3 separate regions of the Homo sapiens genome follow, and all the other regions are linked to region 1. The links are contacts of gene promoters, found by promoter capture Hi-C in human tissues and cell types (Jung and others, 2019). All regions are on one chromosome and are shown on one strand. Each heading gives the region's core, a stretch centred on a gene start or on the middle of the fragment in contact. The rest is flanking DNA. Distances are from core to core; before and after follow the strand shown.

Region 1 (3,104 bases), core at 97-2,596:
CAAAGTGCTGGGATTACAGGCGTGAGCCACCGCGCCCGGCCAACATATCGAAAATTTCAATACCAAGGATTAACTTCTAAAATACAACTTTATATGCTAGTGCATGCCCGTAGTCCAAGCTGTTCAGGTGGCTGGGGCGGGAGAATTGCTTGAGCCCAGGAGTTCAGGGCTGCAGTGAGCCGTGTTAACGCCACTGCACTCCAGCCTGGGTGACAGAGTAAGGCCCTGTCTCAAAAAAATGAAATAAACTGGCCGGGTGCGGTGGCGTGCGCCTGTAATTCCAGCTACTCAAGAGGCTGAGGCACAAGAATCGTTTGAACCCGGTAGGCAGAGGTTGTAGTGAGCTGAGATCACACCACTGCAGTCCAGCCTGGGCCACAGAGACCCTGTCTCAAAAATAAATGCATGCAAGTTTGTAGACAGAAGCTATACAGCTAGCCATTCAATAAAATGCATGTGCAATATGGTGGAGCTGTTGTGAACATCCCCATTTGAATGCTGGGCAAACAGAGTAGTTCAAGGTCCCCAGTGCAGCAGGTCCTACTCATTTCAGAAGGGAACTCTGCAGAAACTATGCCCATCTGGGCAGAGCCCCCACTCCACTGGCCTGAGAGCCACGAATCCGGCGCGCGTCCTCCCCACCTTGCCCGCCAGGGGGCGGCAAGTCCCTGATCCGGGGTCGCCTGCTGCAGAGCTGGTGGGAGATGGTTGAGGGGCGTGGGTGGGTCAGCGTTCCTTGGGGACCCGTGAAGCCTGGGCTTAGGGCTCACAGCGTGGGTCCCCAGCACAGACAGGAGGCGGACAGCTTCCCGTGAACTGCAGGGGAGTCCCGGGACGCTGTCCTCCAGCGAGGTGGGGACCGGCTATGTCCCTCAGTTCCCCCTCGGTCCTCGGGCCACAGGGACATTAGACTAGGGGGTCAGTTCTGCCAGCCCTGCCCAGGCCTCTTCTGACCAGAGGAGCTGCGACGGACGCGGAGTTCAGGCCCCTTGGCGACCGCGGTCTCCTGAACTCGGCCCCTTCCCTGCTCCCATGGGGAAGAACCCTGCCCCTAGAACAGCCTCCCCTCCAGGTGTCTTCCCTACGCTACCCCTCCGCCGGCCGGGAACTCCGCCAGGCCTAGAGACGCCGACCCGGCCCTTTCTAGCTCCTCCCCGGCTCGGACCTGGTTCCCGCCCTCGGCCGCCCGCCAGTTCCCGAGGCGTACACGTGTAGATCCCGTCACGCCCGGAAGTCTCGCGTTTCTCAAACGCCTCGCGCAGTCGCCCTTGCGCTCAGGGAAGGGGCGGGGCGAACGGAAGCCGGGAAGGCGATTCATAGCTCGCGGGGTACGGGCGCGCGTGCGCACTCCGCAGCCCGTTCAGGACCCCGGCGCGGGCAGGGCGCCCACGAGCTGGCTGGCTGCTTGCACCCACATCCTTCTTTCTCTGGGACCTGGGGTCGCGGTTACTTGGGCTGGCCGGCGAACCCTTGAGTGGCCTGGCGGGGAGCGGGCCTCGCGCGCCTGGAGGGCCCTGTGGAACGAAGAGAGTAAGCACGGGAGGGGCGGCGGAGGGGCGCGAGTTTGAGGGCGACGCGATGAATGAATCGGAACGGGGGGTGGGGAGACGCGGGATCTGGAGGTGAGTGGGAGAGGACGAGGGGCCGGAAGGAAACAGGGACATCGAGTGTGTCCCTTCTCGGGTGCACCCTTTATTTTTGTTTTTGTTTTTGTTTGAGACAGAGGCTTGCTCTGTTTCCCAAGCTAGAGTGCAGTGGCGGGCGCGATCACGGCTCACTGTAGCCTCGAACTCCCGATCTCAAGCGATCCTCCCCCCTCGGCCCGGGTAATTAAAAAAATTTTTCTTAAGACAGGGTCTTGCTATGTTGCCCAGGCTGATCTCAAACACCCGGGCTCCAGTGATCCTCCCGCCTCGACCTTCCAAAGTGCTGAGGTTACAGGCGTGAGCCACTGCCCGGCCAGGTGCACCCTTTGTACAGGAAAAGGGGTAGGAAAGGCTTCGAGGTCCCTCTGAGCCCTCTGATCGCGTCCCTTTCCCACGCCAGGGCACACAGCATGGCAGAAAACCGAGAGCCCCGCGGTGCTGTGGAGGCTGAACTGGATCCAGTGGAATACACCCTTAGGAAAAGGCTTCCCAGCCGCCTGCCCCGGAGACCCAATGACATTTATGTCAACATGAAGACGGACTTTAAGGCCCAGCTGGCCCGCTGCCAGAAGCTGCTGGACGGAGGGGCCCGGGGTCAGAACGCGTGCTCTGAGATCTACATTCACGGCTTGGGCCTGGCCATCAACCGCGCCATCAACATCGCGCTGCAGCTGCAGGCGGGCAGCTTCGGGTCCTTGCAGGTGGCTGCCAATACCTCCACCGTGGAGCTTGTTGATGAGCTGGAGCCAGAGACCGACACACGGGAGCCACTGACTCGGATCCGCAACAACTCAGCCATCCACATCCGAGTCTTCAGGGTCACACCCAAGTAATTGAAAAGACACTCCTCCACTTATCCCCTCCGTGATATGGCTCTTCGCATGCTGAGTACTGGACCTCGGACCAGAGCCATGTAAGAAAAGGCCTGTTCCCTGGAAGCCCAAAGGACTCTGCATTGAGGGTGGGGGTAATTGTCTCTTGGTGGGCCCAGTTAGTGGGCCTTCCTGAGTGTGTGTATGCGGTCTGTAACTATTGCCATATAAATAAAAAATCCTGTTGCACTAGTGTCCTGCCATCCCACTGCCACTGATTCTTTCCTGTGTAAATTCTGTGTGTGCCTGAATAGGGATGGTAGGAAACGCTACAGGTATCTAGGTGAAAGGGGAACCCAAGTGTTTCTTGCCTCTATAGAGAGCATAGATTATGCTATGAGCAGTGTAACAAAACAGTACAGTGCAGAAACCCAGTCATCCCAATGTTTGTTTGTTTGTTTGTTTTTTGAGACAGAGTCTCACTCTGTCACCCAGGCTGGAGTGCAGTGGTGCAATCTTGGCTCACTGCAAGCTCCACCTCCTGAGTTCACGCCATTCTCCTGCCTCAGCCTCCTGAGTAGCTGGGACTACAGGTGCCTGCCACCACACCCTGGCTAATTTTTTTGTATTTTTAGTAGAGACAGGG
Region 2 (2,985 bases), core at 395-2,894, 88 kb before region 1:
AACCAGGAAAAAAAAAAAAAAAGAAAAAACTAGGGTACAGGAAAAGAATAAGATTTACAAAAGCAAGCTTCCAGCTCACCTGCCCTCCTTCAGGTGCAGGGTGAGGAGAAACAGAGGAAGAGGGAGAATGGCCAGGCTCAGTGGCTCACATCTGTAATCCCAGTGCTTTGAGAGACCAAGGTGGGAGGATTGCCTGAGCCCAGGGTTTCAAGACCAGCCTGGACAACATAGCGTAGACCCCATTTCTACAAAAAAAATAAAAAGGAGGGAGAGCCAGTGACTCTGGGCAGATGGTTGACTGGGAACAAAGATCAGCAAGATATTAAGACAGACCCAGGCTGTCACAGCACTGGAAGGTGATCAGTTGTTCCAGCTTTACTTTAGGGGCATTGGGACCTGCTCCACTACCCTGGGAGTCTTCTCCCTCTCACACCCAGAACTGGCTCCAGTGGGGTGTGGCCCTGATACTGCATGGAGAATGGGTGTGCCGTTTGTGTCCAGGAGTCTGGGGACAGCTCTTGCCATAGCCCAGGAAACCCCTTTGCTAAATTACATGTGTATGGAAGATATCCGTTCACACCAGTCTGGATGCGCCCAGGTCCCCAAAACGCATTCGAGGTGCCACATAGGTTAATGGTCTTGTGAGTACTTGTGAAAAGACCTTGTTACTGGTGTGGTCAAGAAGGCTTTCTGAGGGGCTGGGGGCAGGGGCTCACGCCTGTAATCCTAGTGCTTTGAGAGGCCAGAGCAGGAGAAGAGCTTGAGGCCAGAAGTTCAACACTAGCCTGGACAATATAGCAAGAGCCTGTCTCTAAAAAAAAATTTTTTTTTTTTGAGATGGAGTCTCGCTCTGTCGCCCAGGCTGGAGTGCAGTGGTACAATCAAGGCTCACTGGAACCTCCACCTCCTGGGTTCAAGTGACTCTCCTGCCTCAGCCTCCTTTGTAGCTAGGACTACAGAGGTGCGCCACCACCCCTGACTTATTTTTGTATAATTATAGAGAGGGCTTCACCATGTTGGCCAGGCTGATCTCAAACTCCTGACCTCAGGCCCACCTCAGCCTCCCAAAGCGCTGGGATTACAGGCATGAGCCACCACACCTGGCATTTTTTTTTTTTTAATTAGCCAGGCATGGTGGCTCACACTTGCAGTCCCAGCTACTCAGGAGGCTGAGGTGGGAGGATCTCTTGAACCCAGGAGTTTGAGGTTGCAATAAGCTATGATTGCAGCACCGCACTCCAGCCTGGGCCACATAGTGAGACTCTATCTCTACAAAACAAAAACTTAGCTGGGCGTGGTGGCTCATGTCTGCAATCCCAGCTACTCTGGAGGCTGAATTAAAATTAAAAATTTCCGATAAGTAAGGAAACAAACCAAAAGATCCTTAATTCACCCATCTCAAGATCACATGTGCAATGTCCGTTTTAGGGACTTCATTCACAGGTTTCAGGGATTACGATATGGACATTTTTGTCCAGATCATTATTCTGTCTACCACAGGGAGAAATGGACAAAGTGAAGAAGGGTTGAGAAGGTGCTTTGGGACACTTGTCTGGACTGTATCTCAGGGAAGCAAATAGCTCAGGAGGTTTCTGATCCTAATTCAGGGTTCTGAGAACTCAACAAGTCAAGCTTAGGGGGCTAAGGAGGGTACAGTTGCATCCTGAAATCCAGAGCCCTGTGGCATCCCAAGCCTTAGACCAAGAAGCTTTTACTTCCCAGTGTCTTGAAGAGCTGTCAAGACCACAGCCTCCTGAAGCTGTGATTAAAGGCACACGGTGCCAGCAGCACTTAGAATTCCCTGCCTCCAGTAGCTTACACTTCAGTGTCTCCACCCTCACTGGACAAAGACTGGTCAAAGGGGATCCTGGCCAGGCATGGTGACTCACACCTGTAATCCTAGCACTTTGGGAGGCCAAGGAGGGCAGATCATGAGGTCAGGAGTTCGAGGCCAGCCTGGCCAACATGGTGAAACCCTGTCTCTGCTAAAAATACAACAACAACAACAAAAAATTAGCTGGGCGTGGTGGCGGGCACCTGTAATCCTAGCTACTAGGGAGGCTGAGGCAGGAGAATTGCTTGAACCTGGGAGGCAGAGGTTGCCATGAGCCGAGATCGCGCCACTGCACTCTACCTGGGGCAACAGTGCGAGACTCCGTCTAAAAAAAAAGGAGGCGGGGGGATCCTGGAGGATGTTCCAGGCAGGGCCAATCATCTAATGTGTGTAACCACTGTTGGAGTCTTACAGGGCCCCATGCTCAGAAGGGGGTTCTGTGCTTGGGGTTTAATGCTCTGAGATTGTTATGTTGACATTCTTTTTCTTTTTCTTTTTCTTTTTTTTTTTTTTTTGAGACAGGGTTCCACTCTCCCACTCTGTTGCCCAGGCTGGAGTGCAGTGGCATGATCTTGGCTCACTGCCACCTCCGCCTCCCAAGCTCAAGCAATTCTCCCACCTCAGCACCCTAGAGTAGGTGGGACTACAGGTGCACGCCACCACACCTGGCTAATTTTTTTTTTTTTTTTTTTTTGAGACAGAGTCTCGCTCTGTTGCCCAGGCTGGAGTGCAGTGGTGCGATCTTGGCTCACTGCAAGCTCCGCCCCTCGGGTTCACGCCATTCTCCTGCCTTAGCCTCCCGAGTAGCTGGGATTACAGGCGCCCGCCACCACGCCCACCTAATTTTTTGTATTTTTAGTAGAGACGGGGTTTCACCGTGTTAGCCAGGATGGTCTCGATCTCCCGACCTCGTGATCCACCTGCCTCGGCCTCCCAAAGTGCTGGGATTACAGGCGTGAGCCAGCGCACCCAGCAATTTTTTTACTTTTTGTAGAGATAAGATTTCACCATATTGCCCAGGCTGCTCCGGAACGCCTATGCTCAAGCAATCTGCCTGCCTTGGCTTCCCAAAGTACTGGGATTACAGGCGTGAGCCACTGTGCCAACCTTGAAATTCCTAATAATTTTTGTTACCCTGAGACAGAGTCTTG
Region 3 (3,094 bases), core at 21-2,520, 110 kb before region 1:
TCCAATTCCCTAACCCCCAGATCTGTCCACTTCTCCAGATTCCACAGAATCCAATTTCTGTTCCTTTGGGAAGTTAAGCCACTCAGTATGTAATGCCAGTGGTACTACCCCATGTCTTACCCAGGGTTGGCACTACGAGGTCCATTCTGTGCAGTGCACACTGTAAATGCAATAGGAATTTAGTGAAGGGGTAGGGTGGGTGACCTGGGCAGGCTAGAGACTTCTAGAAGAGGTAAGATGTGAGCAGGGGCCAGGTGCAGAGCCTCACGCCTGTAATCCCGACACTTTGGGAGGCCGAGGTGGACAGATCACTTGAGGTCAGGAGTTCTAGACCAGCCTGGGCAACATGGTGAAACCCCGTCTCTACCAAAAATATAAAAAATTAGCTGGCTGTGGTGGCACATGCCTGCAATCCCAGCTACTCAGGAGGTTGAGGCAGGAGATTCTCTTGAACCTGGGAGGCTGAGGTTGCAGTGAGCTGAGATCGTGCCACCCTACTCCAGCCTGGGCCACAGAGCGAGACTCCGTCTCAAAGAAAAAGAAAAAAGATGTGAGCAGGGCATCGTGGGTTACATAAGACTTAGGTAGGGATAGAGAAGGCATTCTGTGTGATGAGGAGGGGGATAGGCACGAAACTTGCACATACCTGGGACAGTGACAAGACGGGTCTCACTAAAGCACAGAAGGCATCTTGGGAATCACTGAGGTATGAGGTGGTACAGGTGGGCACAAGCTTAGAGAGGTGTAGATTTGGGGAAGAGTCACTGCAGGTTCTGGAATAGGAGAAGGCAACCCCCAAGAGGTGACTGAGAATGTGTCAGGAGCCTTGTGCAGAGGAGGCCAAGGAGGGGAGCCCGCCAGGAGGCTGTTGAGTGATGACAGCACTTGAGACAAGCGCCTGGTGCTGCAGCGAGAATGGGAAGGAATGGATACAGGAGCTATTTGGGAAGAAAATGAATAGGGCCTCAAAACTGATTAGATGTAGAAGAGAGGGGTATAAGACAGAGGTGGCTCTGGAAGAAAGATATCTCACACCTGTAATCCCAGCACTTTGGGAGACCAAGGTGGGTGGATCACGTGAGCCCAGGAGCATGAGATCAGCCTGGACAACATGGTGAAACCCTGTCTCTAGAAAAAATAAAAAATTAGCCAGGTGTGGTGGTGGGTGCTTTTAGTCCCAGCTACTCGGGAGTCTGAGGCACGAGAATTGCTTGAGCCTGGGAGGCAGAGGTTGCGGTGAGCCGAGATCGTGCCACAACATTCCAGCCTGGGCAACGGAGAGAGACTCTGTCTCAAAACAAAACAAAACAAAAACCACACTCAATTGGAAACGTCTAGCTGGCAATTAGATTCTACCTGGGAACATGGTTGAACAAACAGAAGTAGAGACTGAAAAGCAACTCTGAGAAGTAGGCCCTGTGGTAGACAGGGGATGAAGAGGTGCCTCTAAGACAGGCCGTGCACCCCTCTAACACTGTCCCAGAAGCCACATGAGAAGGAAGTTCCAAATGGGGTGGGTGGTAGGGTTAATTGATGGTGTGACAATGTAAGATACATTTACTACTGACATGGAAAAGATAGTCATGCCATATTTTTAGGTGAAAAAGACTTTTATGAAATGGTTTACATAGTACCATTTATTTTTATTTTTATTTTTATTTTATTTTCAAGATAGAGTCTTGCTCTGTCTCCCAGGCTGGAGTGCAATGGCGCGATCTCGGCTCACTGCAACCTCTGCCTCCCAGGTTCAAGTGATTCTCCTGCCTCAGCCTGCCAAGATGGGATTACAGCGCCCACCACCATGCCCGGCTAATTTTTGTATTTTTAGTAGAGACGGAGTTTTACCATGTTGGCCAGGCTGGTCTCAAACTCCTGACCTCAGGTGATCTGCACACCTTGGCCTCCCAAAGTGCTGGGATTACAGGTGTGAGCCACCGCACCCAGCCTCTTTTTATTTTTATTATTACTTTTTTGAGACATGGTCTCCACTGCTTCCCAAGCTGGAGTGCAGTGACACAATCGTAGCTTGCTGCAGCTTTCAACTCCAGGGCTCAAGAGATCCTCCCGCCTCAACCTCCCAAGCAGCTAGGACTACAGGAATGCGCCACTACGCCCAGATAAGTTTTTGTTTTTTTTGTTTTTTTTGTTTTTTTTTTTTTTAGAGACAGGGTCTTGCTATGTTGCCCAAGCTTATATTGAACTCATGGCTTTAAGCAATCCTCCCACCTCAGACTCCTAAAGTGCTGGGATTACAGGTGTGAGCCACCACACCTGGCCCCATCCCATTTTTTGTTTAAAAATACACAACTTGCCCATCATGGTGGCTGACATCTGTAATCCCAACTACTCAGGAGGCTGAGACAGGAGGATTGCTTGAGGCCAGGAGTTGAAGGCTGCAGTGAGCTGTGATCACCACTGCACTCCAGCCTGGGTGACACTGAGACCCTATCTCTAAAAAATAAAAAATATACAATTTATGTGTATTTGTTTGTTTAGCCAACAGTGAAGAATATCTAGCAAGATGTTAATAGTAGATGGTGGGATTTCCAATGATTTTAAAATTAATTTTTTGCTTGCCAATGTTTCATAATTTTTCTAGAATGACCATAAATTACTTATCAGTGTCTTCAGAATTAAAGCGCTAACAGGCTCAGGAGAATGAGGGGGCAGAAGACGCCCTGGGATTTAGCCACTGAGAGGCCAAGTGCCTCTAGAGAGAGCATGTCAGTAATGTAATAGAGAGAAAAGCGAGATCCCAGGGAGGTGCTGGATAGACTGGCTGTGGGAAGGAACAGTAATGTGGTCAGCCTCAGATTGGTCATGTAACCAACTCTGCTGCTTAAGAGAGAGAGGCAGGAAGCGGCAGGAAGCAAGTAGAAGCTTTTTTTTCAAAAACAGGGTGGCCATTTTGGAAAAGAATTATGTGATAAGTTGAAAATGCTAGGCTAAGCATTTCAACTAGCTCACACCTGTAATCCTAGCACTTTGGGAGGCCAAGGCAGGTGGATTGCCTGAGCCCAGGAGTTCGGGACCAGCCTGGGCAACATGGTGAAACCCCGTCTCTACTAAAATACAAAAGAAATTAGCCAGGTGT

The links. Contacts are between HindIII fragments. The study calls those that stand out against the background at their distance.
Region 2: a contact is called between a fragment that was not itself captured here and the fragment with the promoter of POP7 in region 1, in 2 of the 25 tissues and cell types used here (dorsolateral prefrontal cortex and spleen).
Region 3: a contact is called between a fragment that was not itself captured here and the fragment with the promoter of POP7 in region 1, in 3 of the 25 tissues and cell types used here (dorsolateral prefrontal cortex, lymphoblastoid cells and spleen).

Annotation. Positions count from the first base shown.
Region 1 is chr7:100,704,775-100,707,878 of GRCh38, forward strand. POP7 (POP7 ribonuclease P/MRP subunit) reads left to right here and starts at 1,347. Exons shown (of 2, transcript NM_005837.3): 1 at 1,347-1,530; 2 at 2,047-2,712. The coding sequence starts at 2,057. The coding sequence ends at 2,479. RefSeq lists an enhancer at 686-955. The HindIII fragment of the contact is 15,036 bases long and covers 1-3,104 here.
Region 2 is chr7:100,616,284-100,619,268 of GRCh38, forward strand. No RefSeq gene overlaps it. Among named protein-coding and RNA genes, the nearest start is that of MOSPD3, 5.2 kb to the left of the region's middle. The HindIII fragment of the contact is 1,590 bases long and covers 850-2,439 here.
Region 3 is chr7:100,595,748-100,598,841 of GRCh38, forward strand. All of the region lies in intron 8 of FBXO24 (F-box protein 24), which reads left to right. All of the region lies in intron 6 of PCOLCE-AS1 (PCOLCE antisense RNA 1), which reads right to left. Among named protein-coding and RNA genes, the nearest start is that of PCOLCE, 5.1 kb to the right of the region's middle. The HindIII fragment of the contact is 6,050 bases long and covers 1-3,094 here.